Linked DNA regions of Homo sapiens: regions 1 and 3 are each linked to region 2. The links are contacts of gene promoters, found by promoter capture Hi-C in blood cells and fetal thymus (Javierre and others, 2016). All regions are on one chromosome and are shown on one strand. Each heading gives the region's core, a stretch centred on a gene start or on the middle of the fragment in contact. The rest is flanking DNA. Distances are from core to core; before and after follow the strand shown. Region 1 holds the start of STT3B (STT3 oligosaccharyltransferase complex catalytic subunit B). Region 2 holds the start of SLC4A7 (solute carrier family 4 member 7). Region 3 holds the start of GPD1L (glycerol-3-phosphate dehydrogenase 1 like).

Region 1 (4,563 bases), core at 1,346-3,845, 4.0 Mb before region 2:
ACTCCTGACCTCAGGTGATCCACCTGCCTCGGCTTTCCGAAGTGCTGGGATTACAGGCGTGAGCCACCGCGCCCGACCAAAACATATTTTCATGTGCATGAAAAAGAATTATGCCCTCCAACCACACTACTGAAGCTGGAAAAAGAAAACTTTTAATACTTAGCTACACTAAAAAAAAAAAAATAATAAAAATAAAAAATAAAAAATAAAAATATTAGCCACTTTACTTGTTGAGCCTTTTCATTATTGCATTACTCAATTTTAGTGGGGATCTTTGGCTGACTTGATGCAGATTTCTAATCTTAAGGAAAAATGACCAAAATCTCATCATTCAGTAGTGAATTTTTCTGCAATCTTTAATTTCAGCCCCAGAGTTACTATTAAACAGTCGTTAGCCTTCCATTTGTAAAAATGTTACTATGGAAATATTCACAATTTTGTTACCTGAAATGTTTGGTCAACCATGCATTTCTGCTATTTTAATCTGAAAAGAGAACTTTCTCTTTTCATATTGTCCAGTAAATACTAGTTTTCATTTTCTGGTTCCAATTTCATTTTTATCTAACTTGCTTAAGTATTTCAAAACAAGACCACCTAATAATATTGTGTCAATAAGCCTTCACAGGTATTCTTAGGCTCATAAATAGTCTACACTAACATATTTTCTTCTGTGATTGCACGTTAACAAAAAGGTTATTTTTTAAAAAAACTAGTGTTAGAAAACAAAATCAAAACTTCTAAAATGGAATGAAAACATTTCATGGAAGACTGTCACAGTAATTAACTGATCTAAATTGAATTGTCCATGAGTGGGCCCCTCTGGTGTTCAATAGATGTTGCAGTACCAATTTTTCTCTCCATAATGCAGAACTTAAATCTGGTATATTACTATACAGGTAAGTTACTGCCCCCCTCCACCCGAACACTTATTATCTATATAGTTAGTAACTCTCAAAAAAGACTCTCTCTCTTTGAATCTCAAATGATGAAACAAATATCCTGAAATTTAATTAGGTCTAACTGTGAGGAAGTAAGATTAACTCAAGGTTGACAGGTCAATAAGATAACACTAGTTTAAAAGGCATACTCTCAGAGGGGAAAATCCTAACTCAGGGGGAAAAATCCTAACTCGGGTTGGGCAAGTTGCGAAAAAAAAGTTAAAGCAATCTTTCCATCTAGATAATTCACAGACCAATGTAGTGTCTAAGTTAGCTAGTGTTGTTAAGAGTGGGGTAATTTCCTAAAACATTCAGGTCAGTCCCTTACACCATGTGCAACTTCGGTATTACAATCTAGGACTCCCATCACCGTGGTACTGTTTGCTCTTATCCACAAACCTTCCTGCAGACCAATAAAGGAACTAATGCAATGCTTTCAGATACTGTGCATAACACACTAAGGGTGACAGTGGCTAACAGGGTAAGGATCTTGTTCTAAAAAGCAACCCAAGACGATAGTGAAACAGTAAGGTGCTGAGTGCACTTAAGAGCTCTGAAAAAAAGCCACTCTTTAAAATACCTAATGATAAATAAATAAGAGTAGCTAGCTTTCAGATCACTTTCAGGGGTATTATTTCCTTCCCTCCAACACGCCATTCACTCTCCTTTTCCCTTCTCGTATCATGAGAGCATAAAAAGAAACAGTAAAAGCGTAAAACTGCAAGGGTGAGCAGCCGGGGTTCCGGCACATCTGGACCCACCTCCAGCGGCAACAGGGCAGCCCCCCTGGCCGATTCCGTCTGAACTAGCAAAAACGCGCCCGCAAATATGAAAGAACGCGAAAGCAGCGGGCGAGGAGGGCGGGGAATCGACCGACAGTCCGCGGAGGAGCTACCTGCCGCCTCCTGGCGTGGCGGGTCCGGACTCAGCGACCAAAGCGGGCTGCGAGGGACTGCACCCACACTCCCGGCGGCTGCACCCACACTCCCGGCGGCTGCATCCACACTCCTGGCAGTCTTCACACTAGCCCGGCCGAGAATCAAGGTTTCGCTCCTGGACCCCGACGCCCCGCCTCAGGCTGCACGGGGCAAACTTCGCCCACGGGCAGGGGGCGCGCCCGGAGCTCCGGGATCCGCGCCGGCCTCAGCCAGGACGCGAGCGGGGCTCCGCGGCGGCGCGGGGCCAAGTCGAGGAGAGCTGCGGCGGGCGGAGGAGCGGGTCCCGGTTCCCCGCGGGCCACGGGCGGGGGAGGGGCGGCGAGGCACTTACCACGGGTCGAACTCGTGGATGATGCTTTCGAAGCGGATGACGGCGAAGAGGCGCGAGCTGAAGCCGGCAAGCCAGGCCAGGAAGAGGATGGTGAAGGAGAGAAGCGACTGCCACCCAGCCGGCTGCGACAGCCCCCCGGACAGCCCCGCCGGGGCCGGCTTCGGCGGCGCCGCGCCGCCCGCCGCCTTGTGCGCGCACTGGGCCCCGGGCCCGTGGTGGCCGTGCCGGCTGTTTCCCAGGGCCATGAGGCCACTCCACGGGGACGAGTTGAGGGACGACTTGTGCTTGCTCTCCGGGGCCGAGGGCTCCGCCATGTTGTGCCCCGGCGGCGGGTCTAGCTCTCCTCCTCCGCCGCCGCCGCCTGGTGCGAGGGGTGCTGGGCGGGGACCCGGAGGAGGAGGAGGAGGAGGAAGAAAAAGGAGGAGGGAAGAGCTCTGCGCGCTCCCGCCCTCAGCGCCGCGAGGCCGGCGGACTGGGGGTGGAGGAAGCGGCGGCGGGGAGTCTCCGCCTCAGCAGCGGCCGCAATCGCCGCTCTCTCAACCCAGATGGCCCCGGCGCCCCACTAGCCATCCGTATCCCCAGTGCAGCTGCGGCGGCGGCGGCGAAAGCCGACGGGACGAGGGCGCCAGGAAAGAAGCAGCAGACGGAGGCGGCACCACGGCTCTGAGAAGCAATGACATTCCCTCTCTAGCCCGCCGCCCGCCCAGCCGAAAGGAGCAGGGGGAGGAGCCCCCTGGAGTCCGGGCGGAGCTCAAGCAACCTCTGACTCCGCCTCCGGCCCGACAGGAACTGGCCCCTCCGCCTGTCACAAAGCGACAGGTCCGTTAGGGGGCGGGCCCAGAACCGCTGCGCCCACCAATAGGGGCGCGAGCTGGGGCGGAGCTTGACCCAACCGTCTCCCCCTCCCCCCCACCATCCCGGCCTCGCGCCGATTCGCCCGGAGTGGCCGAGCTGCGCGGCTACGGCTTCATTGTCAGTTGAAAGACGCGGTTTCGCGCGCCTGTGCGGTCGGCGAGAAAGGGTACTAGGCGGCTCCGCTAGGTTCATGGAGCTGAGCTGGGCCGAGGGGCGGGAACTGCGGAGCGGCCTCGGTCAAACTCGTCTTAAAGGACGCGGAAAGCGCCGCACCGACCAGCAGGACGCTCGCGGGCTCTCCGCGGTCGTGACTTTTAACCCGCTTTGCGCGGAGCCCTCACCACGTGACGGCCGCGCAGGCGCATTATCCTAGCCCTCGGCGCGTGGGTCGGGCCGAGGGGTTCAGCAGCCCGTGGCGCTCCTCGGCTGGCGCTGCGAGTGAGCCCGCGGCGGCAGTGACACAGCCTACCTTGCTCATTGCCCTTCACGTCCCGCCTCCGGCTTCTGCGGCCGCGGGAATCCGAGAATGTGAGCAAAGACAAGTTTTCCGACACCGAAAACTCGTTGGAACCGGCAAGCGCGCCCCTAGCTCCGGCAGGCAAAATGCGACCTTCTCTCGCCCTTTTTCGTTTGTACTCCGAATTGCGAAAGTACTGTATGTTCACTGGAAATATGGGAAAATGCAGAAATACATTAACGGCTGCATACATTCCGTCGAGTGAGTGAAACTAACTTACCCTGGACGTTAAGCTGTTTCCAGTTCTCACTTTACTAAATAATAATAGAACGAAGGTTCTTGTGCACGTCTACCTTGTATTTTTATAATTCCTTTCCTTTCCCCACTTCCCTCCTTGTCCGCTAAAATAAAGTGCTACCAGATAAACTCAGGGCAAAATGAGCTTAAACTAAGTGAGGTAGTGGGGAGACTCGAATTGCTCTTATATAAACCCCATAGAAAGTACGGAGCTTTCGGCGTAATCGGTGCTCAGTAAATACTTGTTCATGTCAATTCACAGCTAATTGTACATTTTATTAGGTAAGTAACATCTGGATATTAAAGGGCATATTAATGTAAAACTATAAAGGCCCTGAATTATTTTCTTAGGTGATTTAAATTTTTCTCTTTAACTACAAATTGTGTTTCAATATTAATAGAAGTCTTAAAATATTAGATAAATGAACCCTAGTTATTTTGAGGTAGCTCCTTGAAAGTAAGGCAACTCCAGCTACCCTTTTAACCTGCTAAGTGGTTACGTTTTGTCTTGTTTCCTTAAAAAAACCATAAATAGTCTTATTAAGGAAATAATGAAAAGGTTTCCAGAAATAGACTTTCTCACCAACAGTTTAATAGCCGACATTTATTGAACGTACACATTTTAATGAGAATTAGGATAAAATATTAACTGCCTCTGTTATACAGAGAAAGATGACATGCTTTTCCTCATAGCCCAAACGGTACATGCTGAAATGACAGCAGAGGATTTTTGTCTGTGTTCCCTGA
Region 2 (4,572 bases), core at 385-2,884:
TAGGGCCCAAAGAAGGAATGAGTCATCCAGCATACCTAGCTACCTATTGCTGACAAAAAGCTTTACTAATACCCAGTTGGAGATGAATAGGATGTGAGCTCTGGATCCGCTGATGTATTTATATATCCTTCCATTGCATGGCTTCAGTTCTTCCCAACTAAACCTCTCCTTATCTTTTTTTATTTTATTTTTTATTTTTTTGAGACAGGGTCTAGCTCTGTCACCCAGGCTGGAGTGCAGTGGCGTGATCTCAGCTCACTGCAACCTCTGCCTCCTGGGTTCAAGCGATTCTCCTGCCTCAGCCTCCTGAGTAGCTGGGATTACAGGTGCCTGCCACCATGCCTGGCTAATTTTTGTATTTTTAGTAGACACGGGGTTTCGTCATGTTGGTCAGGCTGGTCTCGAACTCCTGATCTCAGGTGATCCGCCCGCCTCGGCCTCCCAAACTGCTGTAATTACAGGCGTAAGCCACCGCGCCCGGCCAAATTTCTCATCTTTATGAAACACTCAAGAGAAACCTGTTAACAATAATGAAAATTATCAGCATGCTATGTGCCAGGCACTTTTATGAATATAAATCCCCTTAATCCTTCAATGAGCCTGCATGGCAGGTATTACAATCATCCCGTTACAGAAGGGATATTTGAGAGACGGCCTACAGGGTGGACTCAATAATGTGGCAGCTGGCCGGGTGTGGTGGCTCATGCCTGTAATCCCAGCACTTTGGGAGGCTGAGGCTGGTGGATCACCTTAGCTCAGGAGTTCGAGACCAGCCTAACCAACATGGTGAAACCCCGTCTCTACTAAAAATACAAAAAGTTGCCGGGCGTGGTGGCGCGCGTCTGTAGTCCCAGCTACTCAGGAGGCTGAGGCAGGAGAATAGCTTGAACCCAGGCAGCGGAGGTTGCAGTGAGCCGAGATCATGCCATTGCACTCCAACCTGGGCTGGTGCAAGACTCTGTCTCAAAAAAAAAAAAAAAAAAAAAAAAAGTGGCAGCTGTCGTGGTGCTCAGTGGGCGAGCAAGCACAGGAGGACACCTGGTCAAGTGTACCCCATCTTTCACGGTCCCTGAGTTGGGGTTCGTGCCTACTGGATTGACAGAAAAGAAACTTCCAGGAGTCGTGAAGACTCGTTAGTTGCTTCGGAGGGTTATCCTGGGCGTCCTTGACAGAGGTGGCGTCCTCCTTCCCTGCAGCCTCTAAAGAATGTAGTTAGGAGCCAAGGGAGGTGGTGACCCCCCACCCCATTGAGAACGTCAGGGGAGCTTCCGACTTGAAAAACTAGTTAGACGCTCAGCTTCGGTCAATTAAGCTTATACAAAGAGGGGCGGTGCGTCCTGAGGAGGTGGCACGGGGGAGGCGAGCGGAAGTCCGCCAGCCGCCGATTGGCTGGGACAAATGTCCGTCCCGCCTCCCTCCCGCCCCATCTCCCGGTGGCCTAGCGGCGCGGCCCGCGGGCGCGCTGAGGAGGCTGGCGGTGCCAGACTGGCAGGGGGCGTGACCCGAGGAGGCGGGGCGGGGGGGCGTGTCTTGCCTGGCCCCGGCGCCGGGCTCGTCACGGTTTGCGGCTCCGCCCCCGAACCCCTCCTCCTACGCGGCTCTCCTCCTTCCCGCTCGGTCCGCCGGTTCGCTCAGTTCTAGCTTCAGGTTCCACGCCGCGGCCTCGCTCTCCTACTAAAGCCAGCCCAGCAGTCGCAGCGCGCACACGCACGCCCCGCGTCTCCCGCGCCCGGCGCCCGGCTCTCCCCACGCGCGCACACCTCGCGCACGGACGCACCCACGTTTGTCCTCGCGCGCCGGGGGCTCGGCGGCGGCGGCAGGGGCAGCGGCAGAAGCAGGCAGACCGCGCGGGGCAGTACCGTAGCGGCCGTCACGGGCTGGCCGGCCGGCCATGGAGGCTGATGGGGCCGGCGAGCAGATGAGACCGCTACTCACCCGGGTAACGAGCAGGGTGAGGGCGCCGCGGCGGTGGGGCTCCTCCGCAGGGGGAGGGCGCGGGGCGAGGCAGACAAAGGCGGGGGGCGCGGCGGGCGTCGCGGCTCGGCCACCTCGTCCCAGGCCCGTCGCCCCTCCACCTCCCGGCGGCCGGCGCGCCTCGCCATCCCCTTTGTGTGGCGGCCTGGGGCGCGGGTGGGAGGGGGCCAGCGGCTGCGCTCGGGAGGCCCGAGTCGGGGCGGCCGGCGGCGCGCCGCGGGCATCCTCTGCGCGGCTCAGGCGGGACCCCGACATCCCCGCAGAGGCCGCCTGTGACCCCGACCATCCATCCCTTCCCTCAGCGCTCGCCTCCCCTGTTTCTTAGCGCGCTCCCCAGGCGGGGTCCCGGTTCCGGTTGCCTTGGCGCAGGAGTTTCAGATTAGCCCTCGAAAACCTATCTTTCTTCTCCTTCTAAGGAGGACGGCGGCTCCACCTGTCTCTAGCCCCAGGCAGTGGTGAAGAGCTGGTTGAATCTTTCCCCCTCTTTCCGAGTGTCCCCTCCCGCTCCGCGGTGCGCTTTGTTCGGTGAGTTCTCCGGCCGCGTGGACTGGCCGCGCTCCTTCCCGGCCAAGGCTCTTTCGCTGTTGCCTGCCGGGTCCGCCTTCTCCACTGGCTGGGACCCGGGGAGTATCCTCCTGCCGCAGGCCAAGTAGAAGGAGGAGGGTGTCCTGAGCTGTCTGGTGCTCCTTCTCTAACTCAGCTAGCAAGATCGCGTTTCCTACTGAGACTGGCTTTGATTTCAGGGTTAGAAGAGAATGGGGATGGACTTAAGGCCGGTGTTCCCATTTGTGATGATGGGTGAACGGCCCATGCTCAAGAAGCGGACTTCCTGCTTTCTTTAGAGCACATGCGTCCCCGCAGTTGTCTCTTTCTCCTTTCCAAGTTCGTGACTCAAAGGAGATGGAAGTATTCTAAATTTTCCTACTTCTAATTTTTACTATGCAACCAGCAAAGGCGGGAAGGTTGCAGGGAAAATTGTCCGGTCTTTCACAACTAAGAGGAAAATTACTTCTCCTATGTTTTTATTCAAGAGTTGTCTTTAAAACTGCCTGCCGGCTTTCCCTTTTAACTTTTAGGATTATAGTTAAGGTTATGGAAAGTAGTCATTCATTAGTTCAGTACGTTCATATAAGTTCTCTAACATAGAAGAAAACTCAGTCACCAGACAGTGAAGTCATTTAGCAGTGGTTATTGGAAGATAATTCACAGTGATGGTAATGGAATACTGGAAACTCATCCTAAATAATCTGTAATTATTATTATTATTATTTTGAGACAGAGTCTCGCTCTGTCGCCCAGGCTGGAATGCAGTGGTGCGATCTCGGCTCACTGCAACCTCCTCCTCCCAGGTTCAACCGATTCTCCCGCCTCAGCCTCCGGAGTAGCAGGAATTACAGGCACGCACCACTATGCCCAGCTAATTTTTTGTATTTTTAGTAGAGACGGGGTTTTGCCATGTTGTCCAGGCTGGTCTGGAACTCCTGACCTCAGGCAATCCACCCGCCTCGGCCTCCCAAAGTGCTAGGATTACAGGCGTGAGCCACCGCGCCTGGCCTTCTGTAATTCTTTGTGTAGCCTTTGAATAAACTGTTTTATAGTACTTTCTCTGTGTATTTCAAGTATGATGTTGTCTGTTCTTAAATTTATTTGCAAATTTTCAATTGAGCAGTAAAGTGCATTCGAGTTTTCACGGAGCTGGATAGAAACTATGGTGTGTTCTCAAATATTGCCTGCCTAGCTAGTAGAGAAAGCATGTGATAAGGCCATTGCCCTCCAAGTTATTCATTCATTCATTGTAATAACACTTATTTAGACTAGTGTTTATGCTATTTAAACTATTATTTACACTATTTACTGTAGTGGCCAACAAGGCAGAACCAACTCCATCCTAATATTTATTTATTTATTTTTGAGACGGAGTTTCGCTCTGTCACCCAGGCTGGAGCGCAATGGCCTGATCTCGCCTCACTGCAACCTCTGCCTCCTGGGTTCAAGTGATTCTTCGGCCTCAGCCTCCCGAGTAGCTGGGATTACAGGCATGTGCCACCATACTCGGCTAATTTTGTATTTTTAGTAGAGATGGGATTTCACTGTTGGTTAGGCTGGTCTCGAACTCCTGACCTCAGGTGATCCACCCACCTCGGCCTCACAGAGTGCTGGGATTACAGGTGTAAGCCATGGCACCCTACCCAACTCTATCCTAATAGAAGTGATATTTGAGTTGGGAGACAGATGACAAAGGAATTATTAAACACTGCTGTTAATGACGTGGTAGGGGAGCACTTTAGAAGGGTAAACCTCCTAAGTCTTTGAGAAGATAAGGCTTGGCTACTGTTAACATATATAAATCAATAATAGAAATCAAATACAGTAAACTAGCATATAGTCTACGAATAGAATGGGAGAATAGTAAAGCTGTAGGTTGAACTGATTTGAAAACAGGAAAGAGGAACTATTGGCGTTGATAAAATTAAATCTTCGCTCACCCAGTTTTGGTAAATAAAAGTCGTAAAAGTGAGAGATCATGATATTCATCAGTCATAACTCTAACTCGCAGCAGACTGCTCAGCATAGCCAAAAAAGTAGAACAAATTAATA
Region 3 (4,211 bases), core at 1,531-4,030, 4.6 Mb before region 2:
CAAATCCCAGCAGAGGGGGCAGGAGGCTCACTTCACTACTCTTGCTCCAGGCCCAGTTCCAGCATGGCAGAGCTGTGCTACTTGTCCTGCATCTTGCAAATTAGGAAAAGGGGCTGTCATCTGTGGAATTGTACAGACTAAAAAACTAATGTTAAAAAAACATGTGCTAAATGGGTGCCTTTCAAGTGGCATGGCCAACAGGGGAGCTGACACTGCACTCAAGTGAGCTTGACATTAAAACTGGCAAAGCCGGCCGGGTACGGTGGTTCATGCCTGTAATCCCAGCACTTTGGGAGGAAGAGGCAGGCGGATCATGAGGTCAGGAGATTGAGACCATCCTGGCTAACATGGTGAAACCCCGTCTCTACTAAGAATACAAAAAATTAGCCAGGCATGGTGGCGGATGCCTGTAGTCCCAGCTACTCAGGAGGCTGAGGCAGGAGAATGGCATGAACCCAGGAAGCGGAGCTTGCAGTGAGCAGAGATCGCGCCACTGCACTCCAGCCTGGGCGACAGAGGGAGACTCCGTCTAAAAAAATAGTAATAAAAAAAAACAACTGGCAAAGCCAAGCTGAAAGTCCAAATTAAGCTTTGCAGCAGCAAGCTACCAACTCTATTAAATATTGTGTAGAACATTCTGTTGTTGGTTGAAAAATGCAGCTCACAGAAAAGTATGCAATACCCTAGTATTTGCAGCGTGGAGGGCGAAAGGACTATATGTAAGCATTCACTTGCATGGAATTCCTCCAGAAAGGACAGAAGTAATTCATAACACTGGTTTTCCTCCAGGAGGTACTCAGGGGGGATAAATGTGGATGGGTGATGTTTCACTGTTTTTGGTACTCTTTGGTTTTTGTTTTTTATTTTTTGTTTTGTTTTGTTCTTTTGAGACAGGGTTTCACTCCCTTCACACAGACTAGAGTACGATGGTGCAATCTGATTTTGGCTCACTGCAACCTCTGCCTCCCAGGCTCAGGCGATTCTGCTGCCTTAGCATCCCAAGTAGCCGGGACTACAGGCGCCTGCCACCACACCTGGCTAATTTTTTGTATTTTCAGTAGAGACGGGGTTTCACCGTGGTCTCAATCTCCTGACCTCGTGATCCCCCTGCCTCAGCCTCCCAAAGTGCTGGGATTACAAGCGTGAGCCACCATGCCCGACTAATATTTTATTTTTTGTAGAGGCGGGGTTTTGCCGTGTTGCCCAGGCTAGTCTCAAACTCCTGGGCCCACCTCAGCCTCCCAAAGTGCTGGGATTACAGGCATAAGCTACTGCGCCCAGCCCTGGTTGTTAAACAATGTGAATGTATTATTCAATCAAATATCATTATGGTTTTAAAAATTAGTTTTTAGGCAGGGAGCGGTGGCTCACACCTGTAATCCCAGCTACTCAAGTGGATGAGGCACAAGAATCGCTTGAATCCAGGAGGTGGAGGTTGCAGTGAGCCAAGATCGCACCACTGCAACAGAGTCTTAGTATTGACTTAGCATATGCCAGGCACTAGGGTAGATGCCATTCTCAAAAGTTGGGAGACAGATAATCAAATAACTCCTTATAATGCAGTGATGCAGGCCAGCAATAGGGACACAGAGAGAGGCCACTGGCCTTGCTGGGATGGAAAAGTGAAGAACCAGGTAAGGTTTCCTTCAATAAGTACTTTCTGGGCCAAGTCTTGAAAGAGTAAAACTAAGACCAACTACCTAGGACCAGCTGCTGCAGCACTTCTGATGCCTGTCACGCCACAGAAAAACCGGTAAACAGAAGCACTGAAAGGACATCATCACTCTTAACTATTGTACACCAGTCCCTCCAATGTGGCAGAGTGTACAGCAATGAAAAAAGGCTTGGAAACACCAGATGCTACACTTTGCTTCCTTCCCCCTTCACACCCCCACCTCTACATTCACCCAAACACACCAGAGAATCCCACAGTGTACGTTTGATTAAGGGTACTAGAAGAACTGACATTTCTAATGTGCTCTATAAAATGTTAAAGTCAAATAAGGCCCCAAAGAGACGCAAAGCTTCGCAAACATCTCGGCAAGGGAGAATTCTCAACGCCTCAGGGAGAGCGGCCTGTTGAAACTTGGATTTTCTTCCTGATACGACGCGCCTAAGATAGTGGACCTATCAGAAGCGGGGGCGAGACGGGCACCTTGAAGGGCAGAGCATGCCCCGCCCGTGACCTGGGCAGCAAGAGCCCTTTAGCCCTCTCCGCCTCGGTTTCCTCAACACCGAAACTGCAGTAAGAATGCTCGAGCCTCCACCAAGTCCTTGACCCAGGAGATCCGCCGTGGAGAACGGAATACGCCCTTAGGATATTGTGCAAAACACCCAGGCGTGGCAAGCAGGTGGCTTCTGTGCGCTCAGTAACGGGGGCGCAGACAGGTGCCCGCGTGCTCGGGGTGCCCTCTCTCCGCGCTGTCCCCCGCACGCACGCGAGCCCAGCGCCTCCCGAGCGAGTGCCCCGGTGCGGCCTCCTCGGGCGCACGGTGCCCAGCCCAGCAACGAGGTCGCCCACCCCGCCTCCCTGCGCGCAGTGCCCGGTGCCCACGCCGCAGCATGGGGCGCGCAGCCCTCACCGCCCGGGAGAGGCGCTTCCTGGAAGCGGAGCCCCGGCCTCCAGCCCGCCGCCGCTCACCAGTTCCCCGAGCCCACGATGCACACTTTCAGGGGCGCCGCTGCCATGGCCGGGCCGAATGTAGCCGCCTGGACCGTGCTTCCCTGGCCGGCTGCCCACCTCCGCCTGTTCAGCCTTGCCCGCAGCGGCTGGCGGCGGCCCCGCCCCTTTCGCCTCTCCGCCAATGGTCGCGGCCACCCCCGCCCGGCGCCGGGGGCCGCAGCTGACAGCGGGGCAGGACCCGCTTCGCCACTCCCAAGAACCACTGCGCACGCCTGGCCCCGGCCGGCCTCCAGGCCCGGCTCCGGCACCGCCCCGCCCTGCCCGAGGCACGTCGGGACATGTAGTCCTCACCCCCCGTCGCTGCGCGGCCCTAGGCAGCAGCTCCCGCCGCGCCACATGCAGGCCCAGGCCACTGAGCAGCGACTCGCGCCCCTGGTTCCCGGTGGAGGCTGCACTCCATCCTCATGGGTGGAGCAGACCCAACCAGCTTGCCGTGGTGCCCCCTACACGCTCCTTTTTCCCTACTCGGGAAGGGCTGCCACATTGCCATTTGGAGCCGAGAGAGGCTCCTAGGTTGACTCTCAAGCCGACCAGACTTGGGGCAGAGCTCGAAATGCCCACCCGACCTTGTCATCCTCTGTTTCATTTGCACAAACAAGACACAGCCTGGCACCTCTGAACTTCTTAGAGAACTTGGATCTTCAGAGGACTTTGGAATTTGGCTGAACAGTACCTGCATTTCAAGGATGACACCTTTTCTAGTTAGAGTCAAGATAGAAACTTGACCTGGTGCAGTGGCTCACACCTGTAATCCCAGCACTTTTGGAGGCCGAGTCAGGAAGATCACTTGAGCCCAGGAGTTCGAGACCAGCCTGAGCAACATAATTAGGACCCCCCACCCCTCTGTACAAAAATTTAAAAAATTAGCCAAGCATGGTGGCACGCACCTATAGTCCTAGCTACTCAGGAGGCTGAGGCGGGAGAATTGCATGTGCCCAGGAGGTCGAGGCTTCAGTGAGCCAGGATAGGGCCACTGCACTCCAGACTGAAGGACAGTGAGACCCTGTCTCAACAAAAAATAAATACATAAAAATAAAGGGAAAAAGGTAACAACAGCTTGCATTCAGTGGGTGTCACCCTCACACGCTTACTTGGCAGGAATTGCTTTACCATTGTCTTTGCCCAGGGCCTGACTTATCCCTTGCTTGTGGTTTGTTTGCATTTGTGAGTAACACAATGCTCTCCTCCTTGACAAATAGAATCTTAGTTTGTTCATTCTGAGCATCAGTCTCTGCCAGGCACTGTGCTAGACGCTGTCAGAGTAGGACAAAGTCCTTTAAACCAGTGGTTCTCAAACTCTGCTGCATATTAGTCACTGGGGCTTTTAAAAATCCCCATGCCCAGACACCATTGCAGGCCAGTTACATCAGAATGTCCCATGGTGGGATCCAGGCATCAGGATATTTACTTATTGACATATATTTTTTGAGACAGTCTCCTTCTGTTGCCCAGGCTGGAGCAGAATTTTTTAAAGTTCAAGAGGTAGTTGCAAAAGCAAGCCAAGATTGAGAACCAGAAGACTAAAATA

The links. Contacts are between HindIII fragments. The CHiCAGO score rates a contact against its expected background, and 5 or more counts as called.
Region 1: a contact is called between the fragment with the promoter of STT3B here and the fragment with the promoter of SLC4A7 in region 2, in 1 of 17 cell types (fetal thymus). The highest score is 9.1, in fetal thymus.
Region 3: a contact is called between the fragment with the promoter of GPD1L here and the fragment with the promoter of SLC4A7 in region 2, in 1 of 17 cell types (non-activated CD4 T cells). The highest score is 6.0, in non-activated CD4 T cells.

The regions. Positions count from the first base shown.
Region 1 is chr3:31,530,957-31,535,519 of GRCh38, reverse strand. STT3B (STT3 oligosaccharyltransferase complex catalytic subunit B) reads right to left here and starts at 2,595. Exons shown (of 16, transcript NM_178862.3): 1 at 2,208-2,595. The coding sequence starts at 2,521. RefSeq lists enhancers at 1-423, 1,863-1,922, 2,773-2,912 and silencers at 2,083-2,232, 2,313-2,442, 2,473-2,702, 3,013-3,272. The HindIII fragment of the contact is 5,534 bases long and covers 1-4,563 here.
Region 2 is chr3:27,481,446-27,486,017 of GRCh38, reverse strand. It overlaps SLC4A7 (solute carrier family 4 member 7), which reads left to right and starts at 1,634. Exons shown (of 26, transcript NM_001321103.2): 1 at 1,634-1,951. The coding sequence starts at 1,892. RefSeq lists enhancers at 976-1,105, 1,584-2,360, 2,376-2,435, 2,466-2,675, 2,836-2,895 and silencers at 1,236-1,715, 1,746-2,105, 2,136-2,205. The HindIII fragment of the contact is 9,889 bases long and covers 1,315-4,572 here.
Region 3 is chr3:32,105,189-32,109,399 of GRCh38, reverse strand. It overlaps GPD1L (glycerol-3-phosphate dehydrogenase 1 like), which reads right to left and starts at 2,780. Exons shown (of 8, transcript NM_015141.4): 1 at 2,642-2,780. The coding sequence starts at 2,688. RefSeq lists silencers at 2,378-2,517, 2,638-3,047. The HindIII fragment of the contact is 2,757 bases long and covers 2,027-4,211 here.